Regions from separate parts of the Homo sapiens genome. Here all the other regions are linked to region 4. The links are contacts of gene promoters, found by promoter capture Hi-C in blood cells and fetal thymus (Javierre and others, 2016). All regions are on one chromosome and are shown on one strand. The core of a region is centred on a gene start or on the middle of the fragment in contact, and the rest is flanking DNA. Distances in the headings are between cores, read along the strand shown.

Region 1 (4,981 bases), core at 2,189-4,688, 430 kb before region 4:
CCAAAACTGTCTCATTGGGAAGTTACTCAGCCCAAATCTGAACCTAAACAGCCAAAATAAAGAGATCTGATTCTGAAGCAATATTTTCTGAGTTTGAATTCATCGAGTACCTAATATTAAATAAATACATAAGCTAGTTTGAAGTACAACTTATCTAGAGCATGTCTTTGTAGATAAGAAAATCTTCATGTTTTTCACCGTATCTACTTGAGGTAGAATTTATTGGCAAAATAACTCAACTGGATAGATTCTCAAGAGGAAAATAGTCAGGCAATATTTGTGTATAAGAAACAGAGCCCTGTTCCTTAGAAGAGAGCTGTCTGTATCTGTAGCTGGGTGAAAAACAACATGACATTGGTGAACTGTGTATCCTAAGGTGTAATAATCTGGGGGACCAGGAGGATGAGCCAAGAGGGTGGGAGATAAGGCTAAAAAAATTGGAAAACACCAGTGACAAAGGCACCTGGTAGCTGCTCAAGGGTTTAGAGTAGGAGAGCCGTCTGACCACATTTACATTTGGGGTACATATGGTGGCAGAAAAATGGAGGATTGGGGGATCAGAATGGTAAGACTGGAAGCAGGGAAATGCCTTAGGTTACTATTAGTTGTTTTTATTTTTAAGTAAGAAATGTTCTGTAGTGAACATGTATTAATTTTGTAATAGAAAATACATAGCTATTATTTTGTATGAAATATACTTGTGGAATGGTTTATTATATAGTCCCAATTTAAAAAAATCTACAATTAAAATCCCAATTAGAGATTGGTTATTCATTTGACACTTGATGTCTTTGCTCAACAATAGGATTCATCACAGATTTTCATTAAATAATCATTTATTTCTACCACATTATCTGTAGTCTATGTAGGGAACATGTCAATTTTATTAAGCAAAGTAGAATGAAAATTACAACCATGTTACCTGCAGTACTTTAGTTAATTTTTATAGCTCCTCAGCCTTCCACAAGTCACAAAAATACTCACACCCTGGGTAACATACTAGTCTGGAGCAACAAGCCCCAGAAAACTGATAATAAAAATAATGGTTTATAAAGACAAGCCTGACAGACTAATTATAGCCTCACTTTGTCTCTCTCCAACTCTATTTAAAAACTATTGATAATATTTAGTCCCAGGTATATAGATTTTTTGTGTTGGTTTGGTTTGGTGTTTTCATCATTTGAACTTCTTAATAGTTTTTGGAATTAATTAGACAGTCAGCTATCAAATGAGAGACATTTAGTAAGCAAGTTTACTATCATTTTGCCCAATATTAATATGTTATTTTAATACACTTTAAGTTTAATACAGATCAAGTTTTAAACCCCAGCCAGGCGCGGTGGCTCACACCTGTAATCCTACACTTTGGGAGGCCGAGGCTGTTGGATCACTTGAGGTCAGGAGTTCGAGACCAGCCTGGCCAACCTGGGGAAACCCCATTTCTACTAAAAATACAAAAATTAGCTGGGTGTGGTGGCGCATGCCTATAATTCCAGCTCCTCTGGAGGCTGAGGCACAAGAATCTCTTGGACCCAGGAGGTGGAGGTTGCAGTGAGCTGAGATTGTGCCGCCGCACTCCAGCCTGGGTGGTAGAATCAGACTGTCTCAAAAAAAGTTTTAAACCCTACTTGACAGTGTATTCTTTGTTATTATTATGCATTTTATACTGGCCATGTAAAAATGATGTTGTCTGATTTTACCTGTGCACACAGGATTATATAAAATGTAATTTTAATATCCACTTAATCTAAGTACTGAACCACGGTAACCTTTTAAATATATTTAAACTATACAAGTAATACATAAATATTGGGCAAATTTATTTGTATGAACCAGACTGAGGAGGCTGGCCAACATTGAAAATACCCTTTAAAGTACTAAGTAAATAAGTATAGTATATTTAACTCTTTCTAATGATAATAATTTTTGATAAATGCTAATTTAACTCCCTTCAGATAGGCATGCTTTTTGACATGTGAAAGTGAGATTCCATAGGTTGTTGCTGAGATGATAAACTCAATATAAATAATAGAGAAACCATATGGTTAGCCCGGGATTCAGAAATTGGCTTTAACATTTGCCAGTAAATAAAGAGTTTCTTTGAAGGCACACCGATGTATTAATTTTTAATTTGTTTCTTTTTGATCTCTTAATTACTGAAAAAGATTTATTGGTTAATTTTAGGAAGGCAAGTGTTTGAAAAGTTTCGCCAAATACTGTCTTCTTTAAATGACTGTATGGTAATGAAAAGTTAAGAGGAGAGCCAAATTAGATTGAATAATTGTTCAGTCATGTGGGTCAGGCTTGTTGCATAGCCTGGTTGTTAAGACTGATTGCTCAAATTACATTGCCTGGGGTCCTGCACTTGGTTGGCTGTCTTCTCAGATCTTAACAAGGTTCTGGGAATTTCTTTTTCTGACAAAGTTTGCTTTGTATTTTCCCCTCCCCCTACCACCTCCAGGATGCATCATCTGCAGACATCAGAAAAGCATATCGTAAGCTTTCACTAACTTTACATCCAGACAAGAATAAAGATGAAAATGCAGAAACTCAGTTTAGACAAGTAAGTGAAATATGCTATTATATATATATTTTGTGACAAATGTATTAACATGTCGATGGTAGAAATATTCACTTATATATGGAATATTTTCATTTGAAAATGAGGTAGTAGTTTAAAATATAGTGTATATTTTTTTTCAAGTTTCTACAAAATGCATTTTTACTATTTTGTATTAGCATCTCTAAATTCTTGGAGGGTCATAATTGTCATAATTTTCTTGTCTAAATTACAGCTTTTGCTTCTAAATGCACATTTTAAGATAAGTATTACTTTTGTAACTGTCACAAAGATTTATTTTGATATCAAGCATTTTTAATCTCTTAAGGTACTACCAAAACATAGTGTTACTTATAAAGGAGATTTCATCTGTTTATTGTATATATAGGCACATAGGATTTTCTGCATGTGTATTGTAGTGCCTTCACCCTCCTATGTGATTTCTTATAGTTGAGAGTATTTTTATTTTAAAGTAATGCTTTTATTTTAGTTGGTGGCCATTTATGAAGTTTTAAAGGATGATGAACGAAGGCAGAGGTGAGTGTTCATTTCTGCTTTTGAATTAAGATGTTATAGTTTCATGCTACAGTTTATAAAGAATTAAGTCTTCTTAAACATTTTATTATTATGTTAGCATTTTATTTTTGTTCCTTCCGAGAAATGCAGTGTTTTAAAAATGTGTGTTTGAAGCAGAGTTAATTTTATTGAAAGTATTCACTAGATTGATTTGATACATACAAGCTTCAGGATTTTGAGTCATAATGTTAGCAAGTCCGGGCTTCCTTAATACGACTTTTAACATGAGTGTTTATGCCCTGGGAGATACAAATACTGCCTGAATTCAAATAAATGTCCATTCCTTCCCATATGTCAGTAATAGCTCCTATCTGTGCCTGATGCTTGGTGCTTTTCCCCCCCATTCCTTAAATGTTTGAATTAGACTGTAGTGATAGTCAAGTTAGTACTCTTTCTTGATATTTCCTCACTCTCAGAATAACCCAGTTATATAAGCTTCTGTAAGCCTGTAGAAGAAAGAAAACTTTGCCTCTTGCATCTATTTCTTTTGCCTCCTTCCCTTCCTTTACTCTGCTCCGGCAATTCTGCATTCAGGGTTAAACTTCAGAGTGGAGGTAGCCCCTCACTCTAAGACTTCTCTGTGCCCCTTTCAGAAGACTGGCAATATATTTATGTAGTAGTTTATAATGCCAGTGACTTAAGAGGAGATTACACAGAGGCCCCTTTCCTCTACTCCTACAGAATGTATGGAATGTAGACATCATTTCAGCAGCCTTCTAAGTTTTTTAAGTCAGACCACAACACATACGCACACACACACACATAACTAAAACAATAGTTTCACAAGATATTTCTTATTGCATGTTAAACACATTATTTTCTATTCTAGGCTAGACTAGTCTTTTGGTGTTTTTTATTTATTTATTTTTTAAAAATGTTGGTTGTGGTTCACTAAATTCATTTCATGAGACACTAGTGGACCACAATCCAAAATTTGAAAATGTTCTACGATACAAGAGTACCTGTAAAAAACAAAACAAAACAACACCTGGCTATTTGACATTTAGGCAAAAGCCAGCCTAAATATCTGTGTCCTTCACTAGGGGGGTAATACATCTCCAGACAACCCTATAAATTGTGCTATGTTACATTCTGAATCTTTCCTCAAATGTATTATCTGGAATTAGTCTGTATCCTAAAATGTTAGCTACCATTCTTGATTCTCATCTTAACCGTTTAATTTGAATACCTCTGCTTGTCAGATTGCAAAGCACAGGGATTCAAGATCTTCTCTTAAAGTGTTCTTCACTTTATAACAAGGGCTGGCATTGGTCCAGATACCATAGCAGACATTCCTCTGGTTTGAGATAATCCATAGTGTTGAAAGAGTCCAAGAAGCGTGTTGAAAGAAGTTTTGGTCATTCTGTGCATATTTTCTAGTTGGTTTCTCTGTGAGCCCTAGTTTTGTTTCACACATCAAGAATGTGCCTGTAAAGGTAGCTTTATTTAGTTTTCTAATATTTTTGGCTTGAGGTTTTTTTCTTTTTGTTTGTTATCTTAAAAGTCAATAAACTTTGTAATTTCTTTCAGTTACCAAAATTATTTCTATCTTTTCAAAACAAATCACTTCTCATATATAAATTGTTTCTTCATTAACATGGAATCATCTATTAATAAATAACATCATCTCTTCAGGATTAGTTCTCTCATTTATTTTAGACAGTTGATAGAAAAAATGAATGTGACAGTTACACAAACAGCTGTAGTATTTATACCCCTTGAGGCACAAGTAACTCTTTGGTAACTGGTTTTCCTTGAGGCAAAAGTCTTAACTAATGAAGCTAAGAATCACTCCTCTAAAGCTTGTGCCTGAGGCCAGGTGACCTATGAGTATTTAAACATACA
Region 2 (4,780 bases), core at 1,125-3,624, 500 kb before region 4:
ATTGCCATTTGTTGAGATGGAGAAACCTGGACTAGGAGCCTGGTTTGGAGAACATCAGGAATTTGGTTTACGGACATGCTAAATTTGGGGTGTCTGTTAAACGTTGAAGTTGAGCTGGTATGTAGGCAATTGGTTATTCAGGTGTAGAGTTACAAGAAGAAAGTTTAGGGCTGTAGATAGGAATTTGGGAGTCCGAGGCACTTAGAGAGTAACTTGAAGCCACAAAACTGGATGAGTTCACCAAGGGAGTGAACGTAAAAGAGAAGAGAAGAGATCTGGGAGCTAATAAGCCTTGGGGATTCCAGACTTTAAGAGTCAAGGAGCCGGGTGTGGTGGCTCACGCCTGTAATCCCAGCACTTTGGGAGGCTGAGGCGGGTGGATCACGAGGTCAGGAGTTCAAGACCAGCCTGGCCAACATGGTAAAACCCCGTTTCTACTAAAAAGATAAAAATTAGCCAGGCGTGGTGGCAGGCGCCTGGAATCCCAGCTACTCGGGAGGCTGAGGTAGAGAACTGCTTGAACCCGGGAGGCGGAGGTTGCAGTGAGCCAAGATTGTGCCACTGCACTCCAGCCTGGGCGACAGAGCGAGACTCCGTCTCAAAAAAAAAAAAAAAAAAAAAAGAGTCAAGAAGATGGAGGGGAATCAACAAAGAAGATAGAGCAGGAACGACCAGTAAGGTAGGAGGCAAACCAATACAAGGTTCTCTTCAGTCAAGTGAAAAAAGTGTTTCAAAGACAAAGGGATCAGCTGGGTTAAATGATGATGATGATTCAAATAAGATGAGCTTTGAGACTTCACCGTTGGAATTAACCGTATGGCGGTCACAGGCTACCTCAGTAAGAACTGTTTTGGTGAAGTGGTGAGTTCAGTAGTCTGGGTAGATTGGGTTCAGGAGAGAATGAAAGGGAAGAATTGGAGACAATTAATATAGAACATTCTTTTGAGATATCCATATCCTAAACTAGAAGGCAGAGATGGTAGTGACTGTCTGTGGCATCTTCTTTATCCCCTTATCCACCAGGTATAAGATAACTCAGTTACTCTCTAAGCTCTATAATCTGAATAACAGATGACTTAGAACTTGGACCAGACCACCTTATGACCTTGGACAAGTTAGTTGCCTCATTTTTAGGACAGATGGTAGCTTTTTATTTTCTTCATAGTAAGGCACATAGTAAACACCTAAATATTTATTGAATCAAACATTATAAACATTGTAACTAAATGCAAACTGTAATTCCCCAAACAAGTAGTTGCTTGACAGTTTTTACTCAACAGATTTTACTTCTATGTAATCTTTCACAGCCTTCAGGCAGCAGAAGAATCTTCTTCCATGTATCCTTAGATTTCACGTCCATTCTAGAAGTCTAGAAAGGGGTTGCAGAAGTCTTTGTTGGGGGGTATATACAGATGATTTATTAGTCATTCATACCATGTTTAGAATGACTTTAATAATAGGGCACTCCAATTTGGATATTGCATCTTTTCAGAGGAGATGGGGGGAAGATGAGAGAGGAGTGTAGGAAAAAAGATGTGCTATTGAAAGATCTTTCGTTACCATCTTAAATTATAGGTTCCTGCACAGTATTTATATTTTGTGTAACAGCACCTGCTTCTCAGACACCTGTACTTCTTGTGGGGTCAGTGGCAATTCTGTATTTCTTTTTTTTTTTTTTTTTTTTGAGATGGAGTCTTGCTCTGTCGCCCAGGCTGGAGTGCAGTGGCGCGATCTTGGCTCATTGCAACCTCTGCCTCCTGGGTTCACGCGATTCTCCTGCCTCAGCCTCCCGAGTAGCTGGGATTACAGGCACCTGCCACCATGCCTGGCTAATTTTGTATTTTTAGTAGAGATGGGGTTTCGCCATGTTGGTCAGGCCGATCTTGCACTCCTGACCTCAGGTGATCCACCCACCTCGGCCTCCCAAAGTGTTGGGATTACAGGCGTGAACCACTGCGCCCAGCCTCTATATTTCTTTTAATTGTCTTTTGGGACCATGACTTTCCTTATCCTTTGTATACAGTAATTCTAGCCAACAGTAAACACTTCATATTCATTTAAAAAAATCTGTGAATTGAAATAATGACAAGCTAAATTATCTTAAATTTTGTAGTATTTACTTTATGCTGAAGTCAAGATTTGTCTTCATGGTGCCAGTCAGTCATTACAGACTTCTATTTATGTAGCTAGAAAATGTGCTTCATTCTCTTTCTCTCGTGTTTTATAACTAAATCCTTATATTCAAATGAATGCTGAAACTTGGTTAACAGAAGAAAAGCAGAAGAACAGGGATGTGCTTATAAAATATTTGGATTTTAATTTTTAGATAGGAATTAATAAACCTTTTAAGCTCATTCGGCCTGTATTTTCAAATGTACAGATTAGCTAGCCTGTTTAGAGGAGGGACAATTATTGCCCATTCATCCGTGCCCCATGGTTGGGAGGAACTTCCCTAAAAAAACACCACTGATCACTAGACCCATCTCTAACATCTTACCATGGCGGTGTGAGTTACCTTACTGGAGGGTGATTGCCTTTGCTCTGTTTTGCTTGATTAGGAAGAGCTGATCAGTCAGAAAGCTATGAGTAGTGGGAATCAGTCTCTTTGCACCTCTCTGCCCAGACCAGTAAGGCAATTATCCTAACCAGACTTACCCTTGAGCATACTGTCTCAAAGTCTAGAATGTAGAGGAGAGGGCACAAATTGCTAGCAAGCCCATTTGGCCATCACATTTAACCTGTATTCTTCAATAGCTGTATCAGTTATAAAGGTTCATCTCTTGTCTGCCCGACTCCTGTGTCCACTCAGTTTTTTGGATGGGAAAAACCAGTTAATGGGGCCTCCCTAAAGCCCATCACAGTCCTTTTTAGAAATGAAGATGATGATTTCATTCATGAATGATGGTGAATTTGTACTGTGATTATCAATTTTGTCCAGTGATTCTTGCAGTGGAATCCACTGAGCTTGTGGTGTTGAGTGTAGTTCAGTCTTTCTCTGTGGAGTCTATTCCTTTGTACATGTGTGTTGTGTAATAATAGCTTCCCCATTTTTATTGTAGAATCCAATTTTTTTTAATTTGGAGAAAGAGATACACAGAATCTAGAATGGTAGATAACCTTTCAGTCATTTATATTTCTGATGTAGGCATGCATAGCGTTAGAGCTGAATAAGTACTTGTTTAATTGTATACATCTTTGCATCAGATAGAATTATCATAAAATTAGTTTTCTTATGTACACACTCTTTTTGTGATATGTATAGTTTAGTGGAAGATGCCTGAGCCAATTTTATGGGATAAAGCAAGTCTATTGTGAAAATTTTGCCACATATAATCTAGAGCTGATGGAACAGAGACTTTCTTTTAGTTTTAAGTTTCCTTTTTCCTTTTATGCTATTCTCAGTTTTTTCTTTACACTAATTATGAGAACACTCTTAGAATATTGTATCTTTTGTTATTCATAGACAATAGCCTAAGTTGAACTGGGAAAGTGGAATGGCTTCTGCTATTACAATTATTCCTAGAAATATATTCTAAAACGTTATATGGGTTACCAGTTTACCTAGTGATTGGTTTAATGTGGTTAATTTCACAATCATATTTTGTTCAATGTTGAGAATAAAACAGAGGTTGAGGTTATTTGACTTGATTGCTGAGAGGAGAATTTATATGGCAGTTGTAAGTAATGCCAATAAAAGTTGTTTGATAAAATGCCTAGTGTCTGTAATAAACCTTTTCTCAGCTTTGTTATGCTCTCTCTCAGTGAACTGCTTATTCCATAAATGGTACTATGTGACTTTCAGAACTGTTTTCCACTGTGGGCATTATTGGGTCTGTTTAGACAGTAATGATACCAGTTAATTCCACCTAGTTGAAAACAATTCCAAAGCCTTTCTTACAGAGTTATACAAAAATAAAGGAAAGGAATTGCAGTGGAAAGAGAGATTTCTGATTGGATGAAGCAGGACCCTAGATCATTTTATAATGAAGTCACAGTCATATTTTCAAAAATCTTTATTTTCATCAAAACACTTAATTGTAAAAGATGGGCCCTATACTAATGAATGTAAAAATATGATTACATGTTTTAAATAACAGCATAGTATTTCATTTTAAGAACTGAATAGTTGATATTTGAGTATTACTTATATTTACTGAAATTTTTTGTCTAAGCGTGTCATAAGGACCTAATTAGAAATTTAATCTAGAATTTATGTTTCATTTCCCATCTTATGTAATACTAAATTAAGCAAGGTGAGGATTCATTCACCATATTTGATAAGTGTTTCTGATTACATCATCCAGCAACTGAAATCTCACATGTAACCAGGCATATTGCAAAAGCAAGGGCATGCCACGTTCTACATTTTTGTTAGAATATGTGTATAAAACAGTATACTTCATTATCAGATGGATGCCTGTTTTATTGCTACTGAGGCAGTAGGCATTAAGCTCTGTGCAGCTACACAGTTAACTAATATATTTGAGTTGCTTAATATTAAAGCTAATAATCTAAGATCAAGAATTAAAGGACATGCCATAGTATATGCAGCAGTGTTAAAATGGAGAAGAGCAACGTTAAGATGCCACTAAGAGCAAATACTAGAATTCTAAAATGACGTAATTTCCTTGGTTAAACACATTCTGGAATACATACAACTCCTGGTTATAGAAGGAAATAGAATTTTAAACTGTTACATGAAACTCAACTGTGGCCTGTATAGTGAGCAGTAGTCAAAATGAGTTATGACCAGAAAGAAAAAGATCATTGTTGCCATTTA
Region 3 (5,292 bases), core at 873-3,372, 480 kb before region 4:
AGGATTCATAATAAGCAGAATGCAAAAGTCATAGGACTTTTGACTGCAAAAGTCATAGGAGCAGACATATGCAGTTTTGACATATGACTGCAAAAGTCATAGGAGCAGAAAGCTTTGATTATTATCAAAAACAATGAAGGTGTCAAAGGCCTGGAACAAAGTTTGCTGTGGGTAGGTAAGAAAGAGAAGCTTGATAATCGTTTTATCCATTGTACCTTAGCCGGATTGACTTGCAGAAGGTAAAGCCATGGTGAAAAAAAAAAAAAGAAAAATTATAAATAAGGATATCTCCTTTACAGGTATTCTGTCTTTAGTTTACTTTCCATTATTTCTTACTTTATCCAGGTAGACCAGATCCAAGTACATGTATTCCCACTGTAAAACCATATATGGCTTCATATTCTGCAAAGTCACACCCTAAAAATAACAGTACCTATGGGAAAAATAGGGTTGAGGTACAGCGTTCAAAATCTGTGGAACCTTATAAGCACTCATGAAAATAATAATACTTTAAAAAATCAATTAAATCTCCTCTAGCATTTTAACCTGGCATCATAGTTCTTAAAATCCTTTAAACCCTTGTTCTCATGCTTCCTTATTTGGGATATAGATTCTTTAGATCAGTTGAATAAAAATACATATGATTCAGATAAGAGCCCTTTTGAAAATGAAGGAAATGTCTTTGCAGCTTCTTGAGCTGCACTCAGAGATTGATCAGATAGCTTTACATAGTAGAAACCATAGAAGTTCTTGAAGCCACAAAACCAGCTACTACTTATATTAATAGAAGGCACGTCTAATAGATTTCTAGCTGGTTTTTTTTAAAAGATCTTCATATTTTACTAAGGTTTTGTCTTTAATTGCAAGAAAACTTATCTTGGATCATTAAAAAAAAATGAATGTGCCAGGGGAAAAAAAAATCAAGTCGAACTTACATACCTAACTCTGCATTATAAGAATATCATTCCGCTGTTTACTAATTGTATATAAGATCATTCAAATTAAAAAAGTCATAGAGGTAATTAATCTGTAATAATCTGAGTAACCGATTACACCTCAGTGACAGTGTGTTTAGCCAGAGTCGGTATTTCCTATATATGTATTTTTTATAGCCTTAGATGTTTCTGATAACATTGTATAAACATATCACTTACTGAATTTACAGACTCTGAATAAATGGTGGCTTCATGATACAGTTTTTAAAAGTATTTTTACCTTAGGATTCTTGGGTCTTGTATCAGCTCTTGTGGGAAGTTTGTGTATGTTTCCAGTCTTTTCCCTCTTTTTCCTGTGACTCATTCTACTTCTTCATCTACTTTAGTAGTCACTAGCACTGCCAGGTTTTGTGGAATCTTTGACAGAAATGTAGGATTCCTGCCTTTTACATACAGGAAATAATTTGATAGTATTGGAAGACAAAATGTAATCAACTGATAGACTGCCACATGTTGTCTGTAAATACTAGGCCTGTGTGTGCTATTCCCTAGCATTGTCTGGCTTTACTGAAAGCACTTCAAGCTTAAGAAATTGCTGACCCCTGTCTTACTAGGTTCTGAGCCAATCTTTTCACTTGCTAATCGACTTTCCCACTTTACTGAAAGGAGAGGCTTTCAAATTCTATACTTTATCAGTGTATTAGTTCTACAAAATGTTGCTTCAAGAAATAATGGAAATTCTTAAAGAGTTTGCATGTTGTTGCATGTTTCTCTCTCCCTCTGTTCAAATTTCCCTCTTGATGGAGATGTGCTTCTGGGTGACTGGTTGCCAGGAACTTTTATGTTCATAAGTACTTTTTGAATATTGTATTACCTATTTAAAAAGTTAAGAAAAATCTATATATATTTGGATGATGAGGAATGAGATAGATGGAAGAACTTGTGAGGAGTGAAAGAGCTTTAGGAAGAGAAACTATTGAAGCTTATCTAAATTACAAAATAAGTCAAATGCTCCTATATAAAAAACAGACATTCTTATTGTTAAAAAACTTTTTGCTGTTAAATATCATCTAAATATTGGTTTGATGTACAAATGTAGAAAAATATCTTGGGCATAGATTTTTTTTCCCTTGTCACTTTGAAAAGAAATTTACTTATTATTTTTCTGTAGGTTTTTCAAAGAATTTTTATATTAGACAATCACATCAGCTTTCCAAAAGAGAGAAAACACTGATTAGGAACCCTCACTATCCAGGTGGGGAAGTGGGGATTTAAAATAATATAATGTTCATATGCAGGGTTGCACTATAACATAAGCCTCCTGACTCTTAACTTAAATATGTATTGGATGTGTTAAGATGTTTTTCTTTTATTTAATGTGAAAAAAGCTTAATAATTGACTGTTGGCGCCTGGGCATGTATATTTTGGTCCCCTGCACTGGGAATCAATTCTAAACTCAAGTTCAAAATTGGCTTCTGGAATTAGGGTGTTCAGCCTATAAATAGAGAGATATCTGTACTTCTTTAAGCCACACAAGTCTTTTCTTGGGTTTAGTTAGTAATTACTACTTTGGGAAATTATTTCTCCTTTAGAGTTGTTATTTTGATTCATATTTTAGTTCACGTGGATGTCTACAAAATAAGGAGTAAATTCTTGAAGAAAACCTGCTAATAGTTGTTTTATAGAAACTGAGCTTTGTAGATTAATTAGACTATCTAAATTGCAGCTTTTAGCTACATAATAAAAGTTTACTTGCATAGTCATTTTGTGTGTGTGTGTGTGTTTTTTTCATTTCTTAAGTGTGGTAGTTTTCTTTTTAAAAAATTGCTAAGATAAGGTCTTGAATGTTGTTCTGGTATTTAAGTACTGAGTCCTAGGATTCTACTTTTGTGTTTGTGAGAATTGCCGGGAGAGTAAGAGGCCAGCAGTGTGAGTGTCCACCATGTTCTCTACCTACGTACAAAGAAGCCTTAGTATGCTCTGACTCATTGATGAGAGCAAATTGGAGACTGTCACTGCTTTTTGCTTCTGTTGCTTACCATTGGCCCCATTGCCCCTTTACTGATGCTACTTGTTTTGATTGGTTGCTTTTGCAATGTTTGTGCTGTTGTTGTTACGGAAGAAAAGAGAAATAGGGGAGCCTAGTGGGTGGGCCGGCGGCATTCAAGAAGACTTAGAGAAAGGCAGAAGCTGCAGTGTTTGTCTCTTCCTCCACTGATTTTAACATGGCCACAGGAGTCATTAAACATAGCCTCTGTAGCATAAGGAAGGCAGAATTCTCTAGCTCGTTTGCGTTTTGTTGCTTAGTGGGAAGAGCTGAGAAAAAAAACAGAACTGGAAAACATCGCTTACTCCTAAAATGCAAGGGTAACCTTTTCAGACTTCTGTTGATTTTTGATGGGTTAAGAAATACAGTATGTACATATTCCTTTTAACTCTCCCCCACTAATATGGTCTGTTGGCATTTTCCTATTATTTGACTAGCGTCTTAGGAATTATTACTACAAAGATTCAGTGACAAATAACTGGCCAGAAGAAGATGTGGCATGTAATTTCAGATGACAGTGGGATGATGTTGGTACTTTCAGGACCTGTGGGTAGTAGGGAAAAGACAGTGTAACAGTTAATAAATGTTTGTATGGATTGCCTTAGTTTACGACTGAACAATCACATGCTTTTATTATTGGCCCTACCTCATAGAATCAAAGCCTTTTACATATGCCAACATTTTACAATATGTTCATTACCAAATGTTGCATGCCTGGTTGGTATATACTTTTCTAGATTTTGTAGGCTATGTAAAAATTTGATCCTGGTTCTCAAATATGGATAAAGAAGATACATGACTGTATTTTGGAATCAGGAAGATGAATACAGTTTCCAGCAATAAATCTATTACTGTCTTTTGAAAAAAAATCTTATTGTATGGTCCTTCAAGATTCAAAGTTTCTCTTAAAAGTAATAAACTGTAATATAGATAAAGCTGCTTATGCAGCAGCTAATTTATGGACCTCTTCAGTGCATTTTAAGATTTCCCTATTATATTTTTGCCCATCTAAATATGTTACTCTTTCCCTAATTTTCCCATAATTTATCTAGAAGAAACTTGAGGTGAATCTAACTTTTTAAAAAAACCTTTAGGCCAAAAAAGTTGAATAGTAATCAATTCATAGTTTAATGAAGGACATGTGTAGTTTGAGTTTCTGGATAACCTCTCTTCCTTTGAAAGTGTTTCTTAATTAAAACCAGATGAGAGCAGCAAAGAAGGTATTCAGAACACTAAGTAAAATTAATGTGCTTCATGGAATTTGCAGAATTCATCAATACATGTAACAATGATTTATAATTGCATTTGGTCCTAACACTTATCAGTGTAGATCTAACAGAGGGACAGTAAGTAAGATAGCTAGTATGAAACACTAAGGTGAAAGGGTTAATTGGCCTTGCACAGTTCAATTTGCCACTCTAGTGGCACTTTCTATTGTCTGTGTAAACAGAGTTGCTAAGTACTTTCCCGCTAAGCTGCCACCCTTTTATTTATACAGTTGAACCACCAATGAGGAATGGATCAGTTTACCAGTTGTTAGGCCTTTTCTTCCTGCCTTTTCAGCCCACTTCATGTTTTTTCCCCCAGCTATTGCTATATACCTCCCTAATAATTCCTTAGTCTGTGATTTTGGTCTCTCTCTCTCACTCTCTTTCTCATTTATTTATTTATTTATTTATTGCAGCTTATTTTTTTCTCATATTCATTGATTTGAGCATTGGGATATTAATAACCTGGTTCTACTCCTTTATACCTCATTTCTTCTCGCCTCTACTCCCATTTTACCAAGTAAATTCTCAGAACTTGCTGCAACTCTTTCAAATAACTATTTTAAAGTAACATTTAAATAGCTCTTCAAAAATGAAAACATTACATATATAATGCTGAAGTCCTCTTTAACCAGCCTATACTGTATGAGTACCCCTAGTCCACTGTGAGTTAATATATTAAAATATATACTTCCATACCATTTTCATAATTTTATATCTGTGTATATATATTCATAAACATAATATGATATTGTTAGAAATTTACATAAATGATATTCTGGGAACATTTTTTCTTGTTTTTTTCACCCTGCATTGTATTTTTAAGATGTATACATATTACATAAGAAGTATACATATTACATTACATAGAGAAATCTACTTTAAACCATTAATTACTTCATAATATTACATTGTATTTTGCAGTTATCTACCTATTAATGAATATGTAAGTAACATCGTTTTTTCTCCATTTTAAACAATATCACAGTGAACAACCTTATAAATGTTGTCTTGTATATATTGCTACAGGTTTTTAGAGCA
Region 4 (5,277 bases), core at 1,636-4,135:
AGGTCGCGCGCGGCGCGCGGGGTCGTGCATTTGGCGCTCTGTGCTGCCAACGTGAGCACCCAGCACCTGAGCGGCTGTCGCGATTTTGGAGGAATCCCGATCTGAGAGCCCAGAACTGGGACATTGGTGCGTGCCTCCTTGCCCACAGCCCTCTAGGTGCAACACGCCAGCGACAATTTTTCCCAGGAAATCCGTCCCTGCGCCCCGGCCCCCCTCCAAGGATGTCCTCGCAGGAGCCGGGCTCCGCACTGGGAGGCTTCAGGGAACGGAGCACTGGGGCTCAAAGCCTCCACGAGTTAAGCTGATTATTAATTTGGGCTGGTGGGAGCCAGTAACACGCTCGACGCCTTTGGCTTTGGGAATTGTCCGGGAGCTGGGACGGAGGCAGGAATGACCCAGGGTTGCGACTGGGAAATGCGAGTTGCGGAGGCTCCCGGACGTAGCTGAGTGGGCTGGGTAGAACTCCCAGGGCAAAGGTTGGCTCTTCCTCGCCCCCAAATAAATTCTTAGTTAACTAGTTTAGACTAAACACATTAATAGTATTAAGTGGTGAAAATAGACAGGGTTGAACGTGGGGGCATGTCAACTGGACCCAGACCTGGTCATACTTCTCCTCTGGTGACAAATCAGGGTGCTTCCAACACGAAAACAGAAAATAGAAATGTAACATTCAACTGGACGAATTAATTTTTGACGGATTTACGGTATGATTTCCTTTCAAGCAGTATTCATTGGTTCTTTCCATCCACAGTGCGGTCCAAAGACAGAAATATAAACAAGCACTTTATGCTTTGCGGAAACCCCTTAACAGTATCTCCCAAAGAAAGATCAAGACACTTTGTGAATTTTCCCCAGATAATGCCTCATATTCCGAATGACTGATCAGAGAACTCCGGTATTGTTAAATAAAATGAGAGGAAGGCGAGTGACGTGGGAGTCGAACAATGGCATTTCTGAATCTGTTTGCTTGATTGACATTTGGGAGCTTCATGACCCCAGAGAATAGGACTCATTACGGTGAATACACCAAAACATCAACCAAGATTAGAACTCTAGATGCTGTTTTAATCCCATTCCAGTCCAAATTATAGTGGGAAAATATAAAATCCAAGTGCAGAGAATCACTCCGTTATATATTGACCTAAAGTTTTAATTGTACTAAGGGGGAAATAAAAGTGGAAACCCTCTATACTTTCCAGAATTTTAGATAGAGCACTGACAGGGAAAATGCATGGATTTGGTAGCGGAGGTACTAAGAATATTTGTGTGGTATACAACATGTCATACTTGGGAGACACTTTATTGGAAAAATAAGTAGAGAGTTTTTTGTATGTATGAGAAAAATATCATAACCATTTCCACTTAAAAAGTGAAGATCATTCTGATGCCCCAAAATAACTGAGGCTAAGAAATAATTAGATACCTTAAAGCTACAGTCTAAATTTCCATGACTGTTTGGAAGACTTCTCTCCAACGCGGGAGGGGAATTTGTTTTTTAATGTCAAAGGTTGTGTTAGCATGTACATTTAACCCAGGAAATTGTGAGAACTCTCTTCAACTCAAGTTGGAAAAAGGGAATGTGTTTGAGCAAAGTCTATTTTTAACAACAGAAAAGTGTGAGTTAAAGTGGACTGTGTGTTAGGTTGGGAATATAATCCATGGCAACTTCACTATACAAGTATTTTTGATTCTTCAGTGGAACTCATCCTCAAATTTTAGTAACTTGAAAAATTGAAGTCTTAAGTATTGTGTATTAAACTGAACCAAGAGATCACAGAAAGACAAAGCTATGGTAAAAGATGTTATAGTTATATTCTCATAGATTTAGTAGGAAAATCACAGCAAAGGAAATGCACCAGGAAGATATGAAATAGAGGAAATATGTTACAAATAATGAAATAGAAGGAGTTGCTGCACAATATAGCTTCACAATCTTATATTTTGAGGGGTAGGTTTTAATGAGAAGCCTCTGCATTGCATGGGAACTGGGAGTCGTAAGAATTATTTATGCAGTAAGAAGGAAAAAAATTAATTATTAGGAGCTCAATAATCACCAAATAAACTCTGAGCTTGGAGGTTAAAAATAGACGGCTATCTTCATGTTCAATTATACAGTATCAATTACTAATACAACTGATGTTTCAGTGTCTCAGCGAGAACAGATACCATCTTCTATGGAGATATCTTGGTATTAATTAATGACTGCTTTATTCTCATTATTCACAAGGAAAAATAGGGGTCGTGTCACATTAAAATTAAGATTATCTTAGTTTATCTGGGCTCTTAAACAAAGATCATTCAAAGTAATTATACTTTGAATTAATCGAGGTAGGCAATTTATCTCGTTATTTTTTTTTGTTCAAAGACAGGAAAATAAAGATCAGAAATAAGCAAAGTTTCATTTTGAAGATAGAAAGAACCAAACAAACATGTCTTGACTTTTGCAGTATTTCCCTTGCTAAAGGGGGAATGAGGGAACTGTAAAAGACGTGACTTTGCAAAGTCAAGTCCTTTTTAAAAGACTCGGATCGAAATTCTTGCTATGCAACAAGGATTCAAGTTTGATTAATTTTCTGCAAGCGACGTGACAGCGGTGTTTTAAAAGATTAATTAAAATTGAAGTGATACGGAGCAGGAATTCAACCTGCAGAGGCGTCCCTGGCGCCTTGGGGGGCTTTGTAAGCGAGTCCCAAGCCCGAACTGCGGGCTTTCCCGAGCCTGGGACGCAACTCCCCGTCTCCTGGAGAGGAACGCGGAATTTGGCAGGGCGCCCGCCTGGCCGCCTGGCATCCTGAGCTGGCCGCCAGCTCTCGGGGGGTGGGGACTGGGTGTGTCCTGGGGAACCCGCTGCCGAGAGAGCAGCTAGCGCAGCTCGCGACGAGCCATTGAGGACCAGGGTCGCGCCGAGAGGCCGGAGGGGGCTCCAGGCAGCCTGGAGCTGACGGCGCCGGGCTGCGTCCTCTTCACCTGGGGGTGGGGGGTGGGGGCACGTACTTTGTGACCAGGATGGTGCCGAGCCCCCTCTACGGCGGGAGCTTGCAGGGGTGCGGGGGTGTGACTGGCGCTCCGCGGACTCGTGTCCACAGTACAGAGGACATGTAGGGTTCGGCCGGGGCGCGGCTGCACCGGGGCCTGCCTCGCGGACCTGGACTCGGGACTCCGGGCGGCCCTGCCTGGTGCCATTGCCTCAGCCAAGTCTCCCACCTCTCTGCTCGGTTTCCCGCCCCACCTTTCCCCTACTACCGCATCCCTGTCCCCTCGCTTCCCTCCGCGATGTCTCCATCCGAGTAAGAAACGAAGCTGAACGCATTGGTAACTGTGCTCAAGAAGATGCAATCGCGGGAGCCCTCAGGGTGGCGCACGGCGGAGAGGCGACGCGGGTGGCGCTGCAGAGGGTACGGTGGGGGGCGGGGAAGAGGGGGGCGTTCGTGTGCAATTAGCCTCCCCAGGGCGCGGACCACGGTGTCCCCTTCTCTCCAGCTGGGGGTCTCGGGTCCTGGCGCTGAGAGGCCGCACCTTGCCTTGCTGCCCGGGCCGTGCACCCGTGGGCCCCAGGGCGACGCGGCGGGGGCGGCCCTAGCGACCTGCGGCGGCGCCGGGAAAGCCCTGCCTCTGCAGCGGGTCCCAGGGGTCGGGGCCTGGAAGGGTCCCTGGGAATGCTCCGCGCCGAGAAGGCTCTGTGGTTTCTCCTCCCCCACACGTCTCCCTCTCCTCCCCTCTTCCCGGGGACCTCAGAGGTGGCGGGGAAGTGGGAAGGGAGGCGGGCTTGCAGACCGTGCAGGCTGGGGAGCCGGAGCTCGGGAGTTGGGGGAGTCCGAGTGAGAACGGAAGCGCGTGGACGCGATGGAAGGGGCCGGGGGAAAGGGGGACGGCACTGGGGAGGGCTGGGGTGCGGGGCAGGCGACAGTCCCTTCCCCTCCGAGCGGCGCGGGGGACCTCTTCCCCGGGGAACCCCCACCCAGCCGTTCCCAACCTCGAGAACAAAGGGTCTGGGAAGCACGGTCGGGGTCGGGGAGCGGAGGTGGAGGGAGGCAGGAAGGCAGGCGGTGGGGGCAGGGGAGGGCGCCTCCCCACGTTTCCTCTCGCGGCCGAATGATGGAAAGCTCCCTCCAGCAAACGCCTCACTGAGGCCGCTTCTGAATCCGGGAGGGTTCGGGTTCGTTACCTAACGGCTGCACTTCGCTCCCTTCCTCCCCCAGCGTCCCCACCCCCTCCGGGGACCGGGGCCCCGGAGCTGCCAGGCCCGCTGCACGCGGCGGCGCGGGAGAAACCACGGGGCAGCAGCGCCCCCTGCAGGTGCCGGGCGCCTCCGCAGCCGCTGCGCGGACCCGACTCTTAAGGTGGCACCACCGGGTTCCCAGCCCGCGCGCAACCCGCAGCCCTGGCTCCATCCGCCGCACTTCTCCCTGTAGCGGCGGGCCTGACCGTCCGGAACGGCCGGAGTGTGCTGATGCCTGCTGCTATCTGCTTGATCCCTTCACCCTACCTCTCATCCAGGACTTCTTCCGCGGATGCGCAGCTAGCGATTTCGACAGGCGAGATTGAAAATTCCGGGCGAGTATATGAGGTTGAGTAAGTCCCGCTTCAGGGAGGAACGACCAGAATGACATTTCTTTAAGCCTAAATCAAACTTTTATTTTCGTTTATAAAAAGCAGAAGGCCAGCAGGAAAGGGTCGCGGAGGACTGGCACATCCACAACCGTAGGACTCTTGGATCCAAGTTTTTAGGCTGAGACTGGGCGGTCCGGGGTTCTCCTTCGGCGCTCACACCCCGCAAACTCGTGGGCAGTGCAGTGCTGGAGGCCGGGGGCAGTGGCGGACCCGCAGGGTAACCTTGTCTCGCGCACCTCCCGAGCCCCCAGCAGCCCACTCTCGTCCGAATGCTTTGTTTATTTGGTGACACCAGGGAACGTGGAGAAGAAGATCGAAGTTCAGTTTTTCTTTTTTCTTTATTTTAAATATTTTTCTTAACTAAATGGTATGTTTATGTGAACCCATCATCTCTTGGAATTAAGTGTCCTCAGCGAACTCCAGATTCCTAGGGGAAACCTACGTGCCCAGAGCAGGAAACGCACAAGTCAATTCAGGTTCCGGTGCCATCCGCAGTAAATTCCCTTCCTTTTGCTCCAAATTCCTCCTCTGCGTCCAGGAGAGGGACCCCCGGGACTCCCGCACACCCAGGACCGGGAGCGGCAGAGCAGAGGGCGGGTGCGAGGGCGCGAGGGAAGGGAGGCGGCCTGCGGACCTGGGGCGCGCAGTTTCCCGGCTCCGTGGGAA
Region 5 (5,141 bases), core at 367-2,866, 460 kb before region 4:
ATTGGAGGCTTTTAACTGCATCTGTTTTTTGTTTTAATCTCTATGCTGTGCTGAAAATAGACTGTTAAGAGAAGGTGCCAGGCAGGGGCTGAAGTTGGGAGATACGTTAGATTTTGTAATAATCCAGGCAAAAAATCATAGTGGCTTGGCCCATTGTGGTAATGGTAAGGGTGTTAGTATTCAGATTCTGAGTATGCTTTTGATAGTAGACCCAACAAGACTTATTAATGAATTGAATGTGGACTGTGAGAGAAAGAGGAGTCAAAAGTGACACCAAAATTTTTGGGAGATGGAGTTACATTTGGAGATAACATTACAGATTTTAGGAGATCTGTATAAAATGGATTTCTCTCTTCTTTTTTTTTTTTTTGTTTTTGTTTTTTTTGAGATGGAGTCTCCCTCTGTCGCCTAGGCTGAAGTGAAGCGGCACTATCCCGGCTCACTGCAACCTCTGCCTCCCAGGTCCAAGTGATTCTCCTGCCTTGGCCTCCCGGGTAGCTGGGACTACAGGCACCTGCCACCAAGCTCAGCTCATTTTTGTATTTTCAGTAGAGACAGAGTTTCACCATTTTGGCCAGGCTGGTCTCAAACTCCTGACCTCAGGTGATCTGCATGGCTTCCCAAAGTGCTGGGATCACAGGCATGAGCCACAGTGCTTGGCCGGATTTCTCATCAGTGTTTTAAAAATGTATTCCACATTCAGGAGAAACTAAAACATCTCGAGGATATAATATGTTCAGTGTGGCTGGGCGCAGTAGCTCATACCTGTACTCCTAGCACTTTGGGAGGCTGAGGCAGGCAGATCACTTGAGGTCAGGAGTTCAAAACCAGCCTGGCCAACATGGTGAAACCCCGTCTCTATTAAAAATACAAAAAAAATTAGCCGGGCCTGGTGGCAGACACCTGTAATCCCAGCTACTCAGGAGGCTAAGGCAAGAGAATTGCTTGAACCCGGAAGGCAGAGGTTGCAGCAAGCCAAGGTCTCACCACTGCATCCTAGCCTAGGTAACCGAGCGAGACTCCATCTCAGAAAAAAAGAAAAAAGTTCAGTATGTTGGATTTCTTGGTGTTTTGTTTTCCTGTTAAACTATCAGGATATTTAGTGGAGTTGAACTAGAAAGGCCAATTCCTCATACCTTCCATGCATTCTGTACTGAGAAACCGGGCTGTTGAGAGTAAAGATTGTTAAATATTAAAAGAGCATAAACTGGTAAAAGGAAGAGAAGGAAGGGTAGGAAGTAAAGAAGGAGAAGGAGCTCTGTTATATTCAAAATGTTCTTACCAAATGAACAAAGCATGTTAATAACTTTTAGAAAGAAGTTCAACAGCAAAATTTTTCTGCAAAAAAAATAGTGATTTTTTTTTCTGCCAAATCTGACGTTTAAATATATCAGAAAAACCTCATCCCTTCCATTTATATGAAATGCCTAGAAAAGGCAAATCTGGGCCAGGCGCGGTGGCTCACTCCTGTAATCCCAGCACTTTGGGAGGCCGAGGCAGGTGGATCACGAGGTGAGGAGATCGAGACTGTCCTGGCTAACACGGTGAAACCCCGTCTCTACTAAAAATACGAAAAATTAGCTGGGCGTGGTGGCACGCACTGTAGTCCTAGCTACTGAGAAGGCTGAGGAAGGAGAATCGCTTGAGCCCAGGAGGCGGAGGTTGCAGTGACCGAGATCGCGCCACTGCACTCCAGCCTGGGCAACAGAACGAGACTCCGTCTCAAAAAAAAAAAAAAAGACAAATCTGTGGAGACAGGTACAAGGAATCTTTTTGGGTTGATGGAAATATTCTAAAACTAGATTATCGTGATGTTGCAGAACTATATAAATGTACTAAAAATCACTAAACACTTAAAACAGGTGACTCTTATGGTTTGTAAATTATACTTAAATAAAGCTGTTAAAAATACATAAATACCAGAAAGAAAGAAAAAAACCTTCATTTCTCAATCATTTGGATTAAAATTTTATTAGTATTATATGGAGAAATTTTGGTTGAACTTTTTAACTCCATTATAGTTTTAGTTTCAGGTTTCTACTTATATGTTTCTGTTTTAAAATAGTATATATTTAATACAATGGTATTCTCAATTATATGCTTCTAATAAAAAGCCAAATCCTTGGTAAAACCAGTGTTAGGTAGCATATCTTATATGAAACTGAATATTACAGTAAAGCCCAGTAGAGAAATATGTGAATGGACAGAAGCAGGTATTATGAGCCTGTTTTAATATAAGAAAGGTATTTTGCTTAATAATAGTACATTAAGTTTGCCGTCACTTAATGTACCATCACTTAAAGAAAGTGGAACATTTCTACATGTACACATATATGAAAGTAAGCACATTTTTAAAAAAATATTGAGAAGTATATGTACCAAACTGATGATAATTACTTCTGTTGAGAGAATGAGGCTTTGAAGAAGAATGTATGTATTTATTTATTCATGTGTTACTTGTGTAATTGACAGAAAGCAAAGTATAAAGAGACTAAATAACTGAAAAGGAAAAAAGATGAGTAAAGCCTAAATAATGGCCGTGGTGATAGAGAAGAAAGTAAACACATGAAAAATGTTTAGTTGCCAATTTGATATAGTACAGAACTATTGCAAAGATCAAATATGAATGGGTAAGTAGATTATACTAAATTAACTCAGTGGAGCTATAACATTACTTGACCATAAACATAAACATTACTTTATTAAATTTATGAAGTAAAATGGAAACTTTTATATATACTGACAAAAGGAAGGTACAATATAATATGTACAATTTATTTACAGCAGTAAAAACAAATAGGATAATAGAGGAAAAGAATTAAGATGACAATGAAAGTATTAATGATAAAGTTAAGTGAATAGAGGAGGCTTTATTCTTCCATGCTTTCTTTAAAGGGTTTCTGAATAATCAGAAATAAGAAACAGTGCTATAATCAGGGATTGGCAAAATACATATGGTTAAAGTTATTACAAAGAATTCTGGTCAGGCGCAGTGGCTCACACCTGTAATCCCAGCACTTTGGGAGGCCGAGGCGGGTGGATCACGAGGTCAGGAGTTCAAGACCAGCCTGGCCAAGATGGTGAAACCCTGTCTCTACTAAAAATACAAAAATTAGTCAGGTGCGGTGGCGGGTACCTGTAATCCCAGTTCCTTGGGGGGCTGAGGCAGGAGAATCACTTGAACCCGGGAGGCGGAGGTTGCAGCGAGCCGAGATCGCTGCACTGTAGCCTGGGCGACAGAGCAAAACTCTGTCTCAAAAAAAAAAAAAAAAATCTAGAAATAAGAATTGTCTGAAAAGAAAAATTTACACCTACTTGTGTGTGTGTGTGTGTGTGTGTGTGTGTGTGTGTTATGTATAAACTGTTGGAGGCTTTTAACTGCATCTGTTTTTTGTTTTAATCTGGCTGCTGTGCTGAAAATAGACTGTTGAGGCAAGGTGCCAGGTAGGGTCTGAAGCTGGGAGATATGTTAGATTTTGTAATGATCCAGGCAAAAAATTATAGTGGCTTGGCCCATTGTGGTAATGGGAGAGGTGTTTTATATATAAATAAAAATTATATTTATATAATTTATATACATATGTTTATATATGTACATAAATATGTATTTATATATGTATGTGTATTTATGTGTATGTACATAAATTTATATGTGTATATATAAGCAGCACTCTTGAAAATAATACCTCTAGTGTCCTCTTATTTAATCTATTAACTTTCAAACCTATGGTTAATTAATAATTTTTTTCTAATTAGACACAGTTATTTTTGTCATGATAGTATGATGTAAATGTATTTCCGAAAGTTTATGTGTTGGAAACTTAATCCCTAATGCAACAGTGTTGAGGTGAGACTTTTAAAAGGTGATTAGGTCATGAAGGCTCTACCCTCATGAAAGTGTTAGTGCAGTTATGGTGGGAGATGGTTAGTTATTGGGGTGGGTTCCTGGTAAAAGGATAAGTTCAGCCCTCTTCCCTTCTTTGTCCCTCGTGCTCTCTTGCCCTCTGTGTTCTGCCATGGGATGATGCAGCGAAAGGCTCTTGCCAGAAGTGGGCCCTTTGACTTTGGACTCCTCAACCTCCAGAGCTGTAAGAAATAAATCTCTGTTCTTTATAAATTACGCAGTCTCGGGTATTGTTAGAGCATCACAATACAAAGATAATGAGATTGGCCTGTATATACTGACATGAAAAGAATTCGAAGGTAAAATAAGTTTTTTCTTTAAATTTTTTAAAGTAGTTTTTAAGAATCAAGGTATTACATCTACATATTCTGTTACAACAATGCAAAACAGATGGACAAAGACACATGAATTTGTTATTTTCTATGTTAGCATGTGGGAGAGAACATAACACAATATGTGAAAATAGCTTACTTTATAAGCGTAAGCATATGGAGATGCTAATGTCAAAAAGAAAATGCTTTTCCTAAAATTTGGTTTTTAAAAAACTTAGTAAAAAACAAAATATTGTTTGATAAAATTTTAATAAAATACGATAGATTTTAAGTGTTCTCATTACAAGAAAAGTATATGAGGTAATGAAAATGTTAATTAGCTCTATTTAGCCATCCTACAATGTATGCCTGTTTCAAAACATCATGTTTATAAATATATATAATTTTTGTTATTAGAAAAATGAATCAAAAGGAAAAAATTTAATATAATACAGAAATATGTAAAGTAAAAGGTGATATTTTCATCCTTTGGCCCTCAGTCCCATTTGTCAGAGGTAATACTTTAAAAAATTTTGATGAAATTTCTGTATACACTGTATCTCCATTATTTCCAAGTTTGCTTACATAAATTTTACCTGAAGAGGTTTGCCCCTCATATAATTTTTACCTTAAATAGTAAGATGTAGAGTGTTACTATTCTAAATCATCTGTAGATTTAAGAATTTCTATGTTCCAGTAAGTAAGTTAAAATTGGGGAAAACTAATTTCAGGTAAATTGTTTATCATTTGTTCCTGCAATGTTATAACGGATTAAATTTTTATTTTATATCAGTGATTCTGAACTGGGGGCTGTTCCCCCCTGCCCAGGGACATTTGACAATGTCTGGAGACATTTTTGGTTATTAGAACTGGGGGGCTGGGAGTGGGTAATGCTACTGGCATCTGGTGGGGTGCTGCCAAACATC

Evidence for each region. Contacts are between HindIII fragments. The CHiCAGO score rates a contact against its expected background, and 5 or more counts as called.
Region 1: a fragment that was not itself captured here is called in contact with the fragment with the promoter of MIR1915HG in region 4 in 1 of 17 cell types (activated CD4 T cells); the score reaches 5.6 in activated CD4 T cells.
Region 2: a fragment that was not itself captured here is called in contact with the fragment with the promoter of MIR1915HG in region 4 in 7 of 17 cell types (fetal thymus, non-activated CD4 T cells, activated CD4 T cells and 4 more); the score reaches 8.5 in fetal thymus.
Region 3: a fragment that was not itself captured here is called in contact with the fragment with the promoter of MIR1915HG in region 4 in 6 of 17 cell types (total CD8 T cells, activated CD4 T cells, non-activated CD4 T cells and 3 more); the score reaches 7.3 in total CD8 T cells.
Region 5: a fragment that was not itself captured here is called in contact with the fragment with the promoter of MIR1915HG in region 4 in 9 of 17 cell types (naive CD4 T cells, activated CD4 T cells, non-activated CD4 T cells and 6 more); the score reaches 13.0 in naive CD4 T cells.

The regions. Positions count from the first base shown.
Region 1 is chr10:21,926,622-21,931,602 of GRCh38, reverse strand. DNAJC1 (DnaJ heat shock protein family (Hsp40) member C1) reads left to right here. Exons shown (of 12, transcript NM_022365.4): 2 at 2,462-2,563; 3 at 3,051-3,097. Among named protein-coding and RNA genes, the nearest start is that of DNAJC1, 75 kb to the left of the region's middle. The HindIII fragment of the contact is 270 bases long and covers 3,304-3,573 here.
Region 2 is chr10:21,995,294-22,000,073 of GRCh38, reverse strand. The region is part of intron 1 of DNAJC1 (DnaJ heat shock protein family (Hsp40) member C1); the gene reads left to right. Among named protein-coding and RNA genes, the nearest start is that of DNAJC1, 6.0 kb to the left of the region's middle. The HindIII fragment of the contact is 6,758 bases long and covers 1-4,780 here.
Region 3 is chr10:21,974,687-21,979,978 of GRCh38, reverse strand. The region is part of intron 1 of DNAJC1 (DnaJ heat shock protein family (Hsp40) member C1); the gene reads left to right. Among named protein-coding and RNA genes, the nearest start is that of DNAJC1, 26 kb to the left of the region's middle. The HindIII fragment of the contact is 406 bases long and covers 1,920-2,325 here.
Region 4 is chr10:21,494,868-21,500,144 of GRCh38, reverse strand. It overlaps MIR1915HG (MIR1915 host gene), which reads left to right and starts at 2,885. Exons shown (of 2, transcript NR_160800.1): 1 at 2,885-3,395; 2 at 4,200-5,277. MIR1915 (microRNA 1915) reads left to right here and starts at 3,504; the gene lies at 3,504-3,583. RefSeq lists silencers at 3,405-3,654, 3,865-3,914, 3,965-4,404, 5,218-5,277 and an enhancer at 4,829-5,277. The HindIII fragment of the contact is 8,649 bases long and covers 1-5,277 here.
Region 5 is chr10:21,955,030-21,960,170 of GRCh38, reverse strand. All of the region lies in intron 1 of DNAJC1 (DnaJ heat shock protein family (Hsp40) member C1), which reads left to right. Among named protein-coding and RNA genes, the nearest start is that of DNAJC1, 46 kb to the left of the region's middle. The HindIII fragment of the contact is 7,617 bases long and covers 1-5,141 here.